2 separate regions of the Homo sapiens genome follow, and region 2 is linked to region 1. The links are contacts of gene promoters, found by promoter capture Hi-C in human tissues and cell types (Jung and others, 2019). All regions are on one chromosome and are shown on one strand. The core of a region is centred on a gene start or on the middle of the fragment in contact, and the rest is flanking DNA. Distances in the headings are between cores, read along the strand shown.

Evidence for each region. Contacts are between HindIII fragments. The study calls those that stand out against the background at their distance.
Region 2: a contact is called between the fragment with the promoter of PITPNM2 here and the fragment with the promoter of ZCCHC8 in region 1, in 1 of the 25 tissues and cell types used here (IMR-90 fibroblasts).

The regions. Positions count from the first base shown.
Region 1 is chr12:122,498,668-122,503,006 of GRCh38, forward strand. It overlaps ZCCHC8 (zinc finger CCHC-type containing 8), which reads right to left and starts at 2,265. Exons shown (of 14, transcript NM_017612.5): 1 at 1,975-2,265; 2 at 160-202. The coding sequence starts at 2,173. RefSeq lists enhancers at 1,233-1,924, 1,925-2,618, 2,114-2,193, 2,394-2,453, 2,504-2,683 and 1 more and a silencer at 1,824-1,973. The HindIII fragment of the contact is 12,081 bases long and covers 1-4,339 here.
Region 2 is chr12:123,148,633-123,152,971 of GRCh38, forward strand. It overlaps PITPNM2 (phosphatidylinositol transfer protein membrane associated 2), which reads right to left and starts at 2,458. Exons shown (of 26, transcript NM_020845.3): 1 at 2,121-2,458. It also overlaps a transcript of MPHOSPH9 not described here. RefSeq lists silencers at 2,012-2,101, 2,202-2,341, 2,362-2,621, 2,642-2,841. The HindIII fragment of the contact is 7,714 bases long and covers 1-4,339 here.

The DNA of each region.
Region 1 (4,339 bases), core at 1,015-3,514:
ACAATTAAATAACTATTACTTTGATTTCTTCAGAGTATGCTAAACAAATAAAAATGATACAAAAATCCCATACACTTTTTACAACGAAATTCTGATTAAATATTAATATCAGGATAAATAATAAGGGACAACTATGGAGTAATTTCAAAAATCTCATACCTCGGTCGAGTCAGAATGTTCAATTTTCGTTTAAGTTCTTGATGTTATTATTTGTTAAGGAAGATAAGCCCTCATTTAACAATGCAAATCATAAAATTCAACTACTACTTCTCTCACTTTTGGTGTCAGAATATTATAAAGACAAAAGACCCACGGATATTTTGAGGATGACACACTTATTGAGCTTCTATTTTGTTGCAGGGGTAGGCTTTTGAAACCCAAAATTAAAGTACGGTTTTTATCCTTTCGAACATATATTCTAAGACACGATCCTGAAGTTCAACAGACTAACAAACTGAACCAAAACCATTATTGAAGCATCAGTGTTCCTGTCAAACCTTTCAACAACCACTATGTGATAAAGAGAATGCAGTATAACGAGCTGTTAACAACTTTAGAATTTGGAATAAATCTATGGATGTCCACTGTAGAATCCTTTCAACTTTTTTTTTTTTTTTTTGAGACACAGTCTCACCCTGTCGCCCAGGCTGGAGTGCAATGGTGTGATCTTGGCTCACTGCAACCTCCGCCTCCCAGGTTCAAGGGATTCTCCTGCCTCAGCCTCCTGAGTAGCTGGGATTACAAGCACGCGCCACCACGCCCGGCTAATTTTGTATTTTTAGTAGAGACGGGGTTTCACCATGTTGGCCAGGCTGACCTCCTGATCCTCATGATCCACCTGATCCTCATGATCCTCCTGACCTCATGATCCACCCGCCTCGGCCTCCCAAAGTGCTGGGATTACAGGCTTGAGCCACAGCGCCCGGCCTCAACTTTTTGTATTCTGAAAATTTTCCTCACAATGTGGAGGAAGACGACATTCTGAAAAAATAAATCGCGCTTCACAAACCTTAAAAACTGATATACTGACTGGGCGCCGTGGCGGGCGCCTGTAATCCCAGCTATTCGGGAGGCTGAGGCAGGAGAATCGCTTGAACCCGGGAGGCGGAGGTTGCAGTGAGCCGAGATCGCGCCACTGCACTCCAGCCTGGGCAACAGACTGAGACTCCATTCCCCGACCCCGTCCCCCTAAAAAAGCTAACATATCAGCCACTTTCAGTTCTCTACAAATTTTAAAAGGAAAACTACCCGAACCAAAGTTATCTATCTACCTATAAAACTCTACGAACGTAAAAAAAAACATACTAGCAAATCAAGAAAAATCTGCAATCTTGTAACTCAAGTCTAACAGAAACTTCTTTGGCGCGTTTTCCTCAAGGCGTTGCAAAGCATCTTCAGCACAGAAGCGAGCTCCGAGTGGAAGAACTCTAAAATTAATCCCCAATTTTAATCAAGCAATTAACCAATTATCTCAGCACACCCGGATTCCTTGAGGCCCCCAACTCTGCATTCTGGGACCACTAGCGTTTGCCCCGGTATAAAAACCGATCCCGCGTCTAAGCAGCCGGTATTTCATCACCTACAACTGTAACATGACGGCACAATTTGAGCGTGGCTGCGAAATATGAAACCTCACCACGACCTCAAACAGAGGGGGGCAATTAAGGGCTTGTGTACAATCTGTCAGGTGAGCAGCCTAAAATAACCCTAAACACGGCACCCGGGTGGGAGGCAGGAGTGGGTCTGGTCAGGAGACGGCCTCCCTGAGGGGAAGAGGTCTGCGCCGAGGCAGCCTGCGCGCCCCGAACCCTAGACTCTCGGTCCGCCGGCGGGTGACAGAAAGCACTTGGAATTCTGGCCCTCCTGGAACTTCCGCCCGCGCCCTCGCCCTCGCCCGGCGCTGCCCCGGCCCCACGCCTGGCGCTGCCCCGGCCCCACACCCGGGTGACAGGGCCCAGCGAGAGGAAAGGATATTCTCGGCGCGGAGCTGCTCGATGGTCTCCTCGCACTGCCGAAGCCGCTCCCGTAGCTCCGCGTCGCCGACCCCATTTTCGTCCTCCTCGTCGCCGTCGTCGTCCTTGAAGCGAGTGTGAACGGGCTTCGGAATCGACTCCTCTGGGTGGTCGAACGGCTCGAAGAGCTCTAGATCGCCAAAATACACCTCTGCGGCCATTTTGGGCTGTGGAAAAGATTCGAGAAGAGGCGGAGCCGGCCACCAGGGCTTGGGGAAGAAGGTTGGAAGGCGGCACCACTCTCTAGAGCTCTGGCCGCACGGAGCCACCCGCTAGGGTTTTCTCCAGACGCAGGCCGCGAAAGCTGCACACGGGGCGGGGCCAGTCGCTAGAGACTACAACTCCCGGAATGCAGCGGGGCCTATCGGGCTTGCGATTGCCCGGAGGACGGCATGCTGGGACGTGTGGTTTCTAAGCGACTGGTACTCATTGTCTGCATTGCATCCTGGGATTGGTGCTTTTTGAAATGTGAAGAAAGCTGGAGTAGGTCAGAATGCGCTAAAGCAATCTGGGGGCAGGGCGGGGTGGCTCACACCTGTAATACCAACTACTCGGGAGGCAGAGGTGGGAGGATCACGTGAGCCCAGGAGTTGGAGACCACCCTGGGCAACAGAGCGAGACCCAGACACTACAAAAAAATATAAAAATTAGCTGGGCGATTGTAGTCCCAAGTACTCGGCAAGCTGAGGCGGGAGGGTTTGAGCCCAAGAGGTCGAGGCTGCATTGAGCCCAGATGGCGCCACTGCACACCAGCCTGGGAGACAAAGCAAGACCCTGTCTCAAAAAGAAAAAGAAAAACAAAAACCAGTATGGGATGTTCCTGTTAGGCAACTAAGGGTGAAAAATCAGAGCACGACGCATAGCTTCTCACAGATTCTGGTGTGCGTGCCACACCAGAGAATAAGGAACTCCATAGCCTGAAAGGGAACTGAATAAAAATAAACATAAAAGAGAATAAGAAACTCCAGCTTTGCTACAGAGATGACTGTTGTAGATTAGTTTATTGAGCTTGCTTCGTTTTTAATGTAAGATTAGCTAGACTCAACTATTTGTCTGTTGAGGCTTTCTGTCATTCAATCACATTATTTACTTACACCTTCGATGGGCCAGGCACTTGTCTAGGACCTGAGTATGGTTACAAGAGTAACCACAATAGAGTAATTCCTCCTCTCACGAAGGCTGTAGTCCACAAAAAGCAACAAAAACCCCATAATTATAAATGTTCCTGTTCTTGGGTCGAGATGGTTGTTGATGGATATTGATCACACAAAGAAATGTGGGCCGGGGGCGGTGGCTCACATCTGCAACCCCAGCACTTTGGGAGGCCGAGGCAGGTGGATCACGAGGTCAGAAATTCAAGACGAGCATGACCAACATGGAGAAACCCTGTCTCTACTAAAAATACAAAAATTAGCCAGGCGTAGTGGCACACGCCTGTAATCCCAGCTACTCAGGAGGTTGAGGAAGGAGAATCGCTTGAACCCGGGAGGCAGAGGTTGCAGTGAGCCGAAATCGTGCCACTGCACTCCAGCTTGGGCGACAGAGCAAGACTCTGTCTCAAAAAAAAAAAAAAAAAAAAAAAGGTGAAAAACACAGGAAGTTATGAATATTTAACAAACACCCTAGTCTGTGGGAGTCAGTAAAGTGAGGAAGTGAGACTTTAAGGATCGGCAAAGTTGGGGGTGGGAGGATGGAAGAGTGTCTTAGGTGTAAGGACCACCATGTTGAGTGAAAAGGCAGAGTGGAGCAAGATGAGGTTGGAACACTGCTAGGTCAGTGCTCAAAGGCCCTTAAGGAAGCCTCTTTCCGTTTACAACATTGGGAAGTCACTTACACATTTTAACATTTTTTTTTTCTTTTTGTGGACAACAGGATCTCCCTATATTGCCCAGGTAGGTCTTGAACTTCTGAGCTAAAGCTATCCTCCTGCCTCTGCCTCCCTAAATACTGGGATTACAGGAATGACCCACTGTGCCTGGCCATTTAAATTTTTTTTTTTTGAAATTTTATTTTTTGAGACAGAGTCTCACTGTGTCACCCAGGCTGGAGTGCAGTGGCATGATCTCGGCTCACTGCAACCTCCGCCTCCCAGGTTTACTTTCACTGAAAAATCTGCATGAGGCCTGGCGTGGTGGCTCACGCCTGTAATCCCAGCACTTTGGGAGGCCCAGGCGGGTGGATCATGAGGTCAGGAGTTCAAGACCAGCCTGGCCAACATGGTGTAACCCGGGAGTTCAAGACCAGCCTAGCTGACATAGTGAAACCCCGTCTCTACGAAAAATACAAAAATTAGCCGGGCGTGGTGGCGGGTGCCTGTAATTCCAATT
Region 2 (4,339 bases), core at 1,208-3,707, 650 kb after region 1:
AAGCAATCAACTCTGGACAAGAAGGGCTCTCAGTGGTGATCTAGGCCAACCCTCTCACTATTTTCCTAAGTACCTTACTGTGCAGCAAAGCATTGGGGATGCAGAGAAACGTGATACAGCACTAACCGCCCAGGAGCTCACAGTCTAGTGGGGGGCACGTGTAAACAGATAAGGGCCATTCTGTGTGGCAAGCAAATCAGACTAGGGTGGTTCGAAAATCAGAAGAGGGACCAATTCCACCTGCGAAGGCCAAGACTGGGTCTCAACCAGTGAAGAGTTGAAGGCACCTGGGGAGAGGGAGGGCATGGGAGCACCATGCCTTTGAAAGCCTCTAGGTAGCCTGAGAGGACTGCAGCTTAGGGTATGAATGAAATGGTAGGAGAGGAGGCAGAAAAGGTAGACAGGACCCAGATCCCAGGGGGCCTTAGATACGCAGAGGAATTCTTTCAGATTCCATAAGGTGCAACCAAAACCAAGAGAAACCAAGTGACTTAGTTAAGCTCCTGTAGCAAGTTATGGGAAAAGCCAGGCCTGGAACCCCAGTCTCTCGACTCCCGCAGTCCACTTCTCTCCCCTGCTGCCTCCCACGCCTGAGCAGCTGGGGAAGACCAGGAGAGAGAATGGCCCATTCAACACTCACTACCCAGAGAATCTGGAGTCTTTGCCTGGCCATCTTCAGGGCAGAGGATGTACTGTCCTGTTCACTTGGCAAGCCACTCCTTACAAGAAAAACAGCCCTTCCTAACTCATTGTGTTTCTCTCTGCAGTGGGAGAGGGCTGGAAGTCCATTCCAACCACAGAATACAGTCCCTTCATGGAAGGAAAGTAATTTAACAGCAACAGTCCAGGAATCAGACAAGCTATGGTCCCAGAGGCAAGCGTTGGAGGGGCCTTCTGCTCCACGGAGACACTGACTCCACGCAGGGTACTGACCAGGGCAGGAGACCAGAGATGAATCAACTCCAGCCCGGGAGCTCACCGTCCAGCAGGGGAGATAAGGCAGATGGAAAAGTAACTATAAAATAAGGCAGACGGTGATAAGAGTTACACAGGAGATACAGATAGCAGGCAGTGGGAGTTCAGAGCAGAGAGGAGTCTGGGGGATGGATGTTAGGGGAGATTCAGATGAAGGGGAGCACTTACTGCCTTCCCTCCAGAAGTGGGGGGTCTATCCTAGCAGCTCTGGTCACTCCCAGGTGGAGGCCGGGGAGAGAGCTGGTTGTGGACAAAGACAGATGTTCCAGTGAGGTCTCCTTTGAAGAATCCCGACTCTGGGTGGGGGAGGCAGGTAGGCCGGGGTGTTTGGAGAGGCACCCAGCCCACACTTCAGTGGGAGGGAGAGGAGTGCAGGATGTCTCTGCAGGAGCAAGTCGGTGGAAAGGGGACAAGCCTGGAGGACTTGCCTTGAAATGACATTTGCACCGCGCGCACTATGTTCACCTGGAGTGGCCGTTTGGGATTTCTTGCGGGGAGGCAGTGCACACTGGGGCGGGGGACACTGAACTTTCCCTCTCCCCAAGGCCCCCCGATCAGCCCTGCCACGGATAAGAAAGGATTCGGGGTGGGAAGAAGACAGAGCCGGCACCCCATTACCACACGAAGGGGGCACTGAGGATGGAGACGGGCCACACCCCAACCCTGGGCCCCCGACAAGCAGAGGCCACGGCCCGGGCCTGGGGACGTTCAGCTGGAGGCGGGAAGCAGAGAAGGCGGGCCGGGGGCTCACCTCCGCTTCCTCCCGATAGCCCCTTCCTCGCCCTGGCACCGGCACTGCCCACGCCTGCCCCCCGACCGCTATGACACTTGTCCCTGGCGGGGGTCCCCCACGCGGTCGCGACCGACGGAAATTCGGAAATCAGCGTTTCGGGCACGGATCCAGGGCCGGCGACTCACTGAGGCCAGGCTCGGGCGGTCTCCCGAGCGGGGCTCCCGTACGCCACACCCTCCTCCCTGCCCGGGTCTCCGCTCCCTCCTCCAGCCCCCGGCGGGCTGGAGGCTCGGCGGGCGGGCGGGCCGGGGCCTCTCTGGGAGCCGCCGCCCAGATCCCCAGGTCCCCGGCCAGCGCCCGGCACTGCGGGACTCACCGCGGGCCTGCGGAGCGGCCGCCCGGACGCACTCACCCCGCTCGGCGCGGCCGCGGGCTCTGTCCTCTTCGGGGCCCCGGCTGGGCCGCCGCCACCTCACGCCGCCTCACGGGGAGCGCCCGCCCCGCGGCCCCGGCCCGGCCGGCTGCGCCCCGCGCGCCCCCGCCGCCTGCTGGCCCCGGGCGAGCGGCAGAGCCCCGGCGGGCATTGCTCCCGAGCGTCGCAGGCGGGCGGCGGCGGCGCACGTGCTGGCGGGCGGCTCTCGCTGAGGCGGCCGCGAGCTGAGAAGGAAGCGCCGGGCGGGCGGCCGGGGCCGGCTGGACAGCTCTACGCCGCGGCGCCGCGGTGCCCCGCGCACCCCAGCGGCCGCTGCTGCCCGCGCGCGCCGGGCCGGGCTCGCATTCCCTCAGTGGCGGCGGCGCCTCCTCAGGCCGCGCGGGGGAGCGGCGGCGGCGGCGGCGGGGGCGCGTCCCTGCGGAGTCTCGGCCCGGCCCCGCCGCCTCCGCCGGAAGAAACCTCTCCGACTCGGGCAGCCCGCCTGGTTCCTCAGACCTGCCGCGGCGACCCCGCTCCTCCCCGGCTCGCCCGTGTCCTCAGGGCCCGGGACTGGACTCGGGGGCGGCGGCGCGGATCCCCGCCCCGGGCTCCTCGCCCACCGTCCGCAGCAGCCGAGCGCACTCGGGGGCGGGAACCGGCCGACTTGCGGCCACTGTGACTCTTAAAACAGCCTCATTTTAAAAAATGAAGTTTCTTAGGAGCGAAATGGTAAACCAGGGAGGGCAGAGCGCAGCGGGCAGCTCACCGAAGCCCAGCCCCGGGCGCGGTGCTCGCCACACGGTGGGTCCGCGCTCTCCCCTCAGGACGCCCGGGCCGCGGCCCAGGGAACGGCAGAGCCGGGAGCGCAGCCGTCCCGGTCCCCACCTCAGGGAGTAGCTGGAAGAGGATCACGAACAGTTTAATCCGGATGATCTGGCACGACAGGGCTCTCCAATGGGAAGAGCCCCCGGTGGGGGAGCGCCTGGTGACATTCCTTAAAAACATGAGGTGTTTGTTAGGTTGAGCCAGGGTGGACTTGTTTGGCAAAATCTGAAGTCATGGAACTAAAGAGAGCACACCTAAAACTTAGTGATGTGTGACCCATCCCTACTTGTCACCTTATAAGGCTGAGGAGACGGCGGTGCTCCCCTGGAGGAGAGAGGACAAGCTAAAATTAAGGCGGCCTAGATGACTCCAGATGAAGCCGGGGAGGCCGAGCCCCTGACAGCTGCTCACCTCCTGGGGTCACGGCAGAACCCAACTGAACGGGCCAGGAAGGCCATCGTTCCCGACTCGCCTCCAGGTGCCCCTGACCATGACCACGCAGAGGAGGACCAAGGCGTACCACCATCACCTAGAACGCTTCAGCTCCTTCCCTCCACCAAGAGGTGCCCTAGGATCCATCCAGAAAGATCTGCGGAGCCCACAGAGTCCCAACGGGAACTGTGCTCCTGGATGGACGCCCCTTAACCCATAACTCAAGGACTTCTCTATGCCTGGGACTTAAAATCACCAACAACCCGCTCCTGCAGCCAGCTAGCAGAAATAAACACACAAAGGCCACACGCCAGTTCACAGCCACAAGTATTTATTGAGTGCCTGTAGTGCAAGAAAGAGAGATGGTCCCTGCTCCCGCGGAGCTTACAGCTTCACGACTCCAGCATCTGGCTAGATTCAGAAACAACTGCAGCAAGCACTTGTCTACCCACCAGCAGCACTGTAAAAAGCACATTTCTCACATTATCGGTCACTGTTACAGTGAAATTGTTAGATGTAAAAATTATCCTTGAAATCTGTAGTCATAGAGATGACATGGTACATAATGTCCAGCAAATGCACATTTATGGCTTGATTCCTCACATATCTGAGGGGTCTATGGAAATAAAGTACAAATCAGGCAGAAAAGACTTAGTAACACAGTTCCTAAGAATACTGGGGTAGTAGTTTATTATCAAACTACCATAGAGCTCTTGGCAGGGCAGGAAATTATTTCCAGCAAAATTTGTGCAATATAGTGGATTTAATCAAACCTGCAACTGTCAACCATACATGGTCCCTCATGACAGGTAAATATAATCTACCTGTCTGAATGGTAAAAGGCTACAGGTGTGCATTTATTTTTTAAAGCTTCTTAAAGACTCATAGCACAAGTGGCACATTGAAATCTAGTGAAAACTTGAGATAATCTAAAAATTAAAGTGACAAAAGTGTCTAATTTT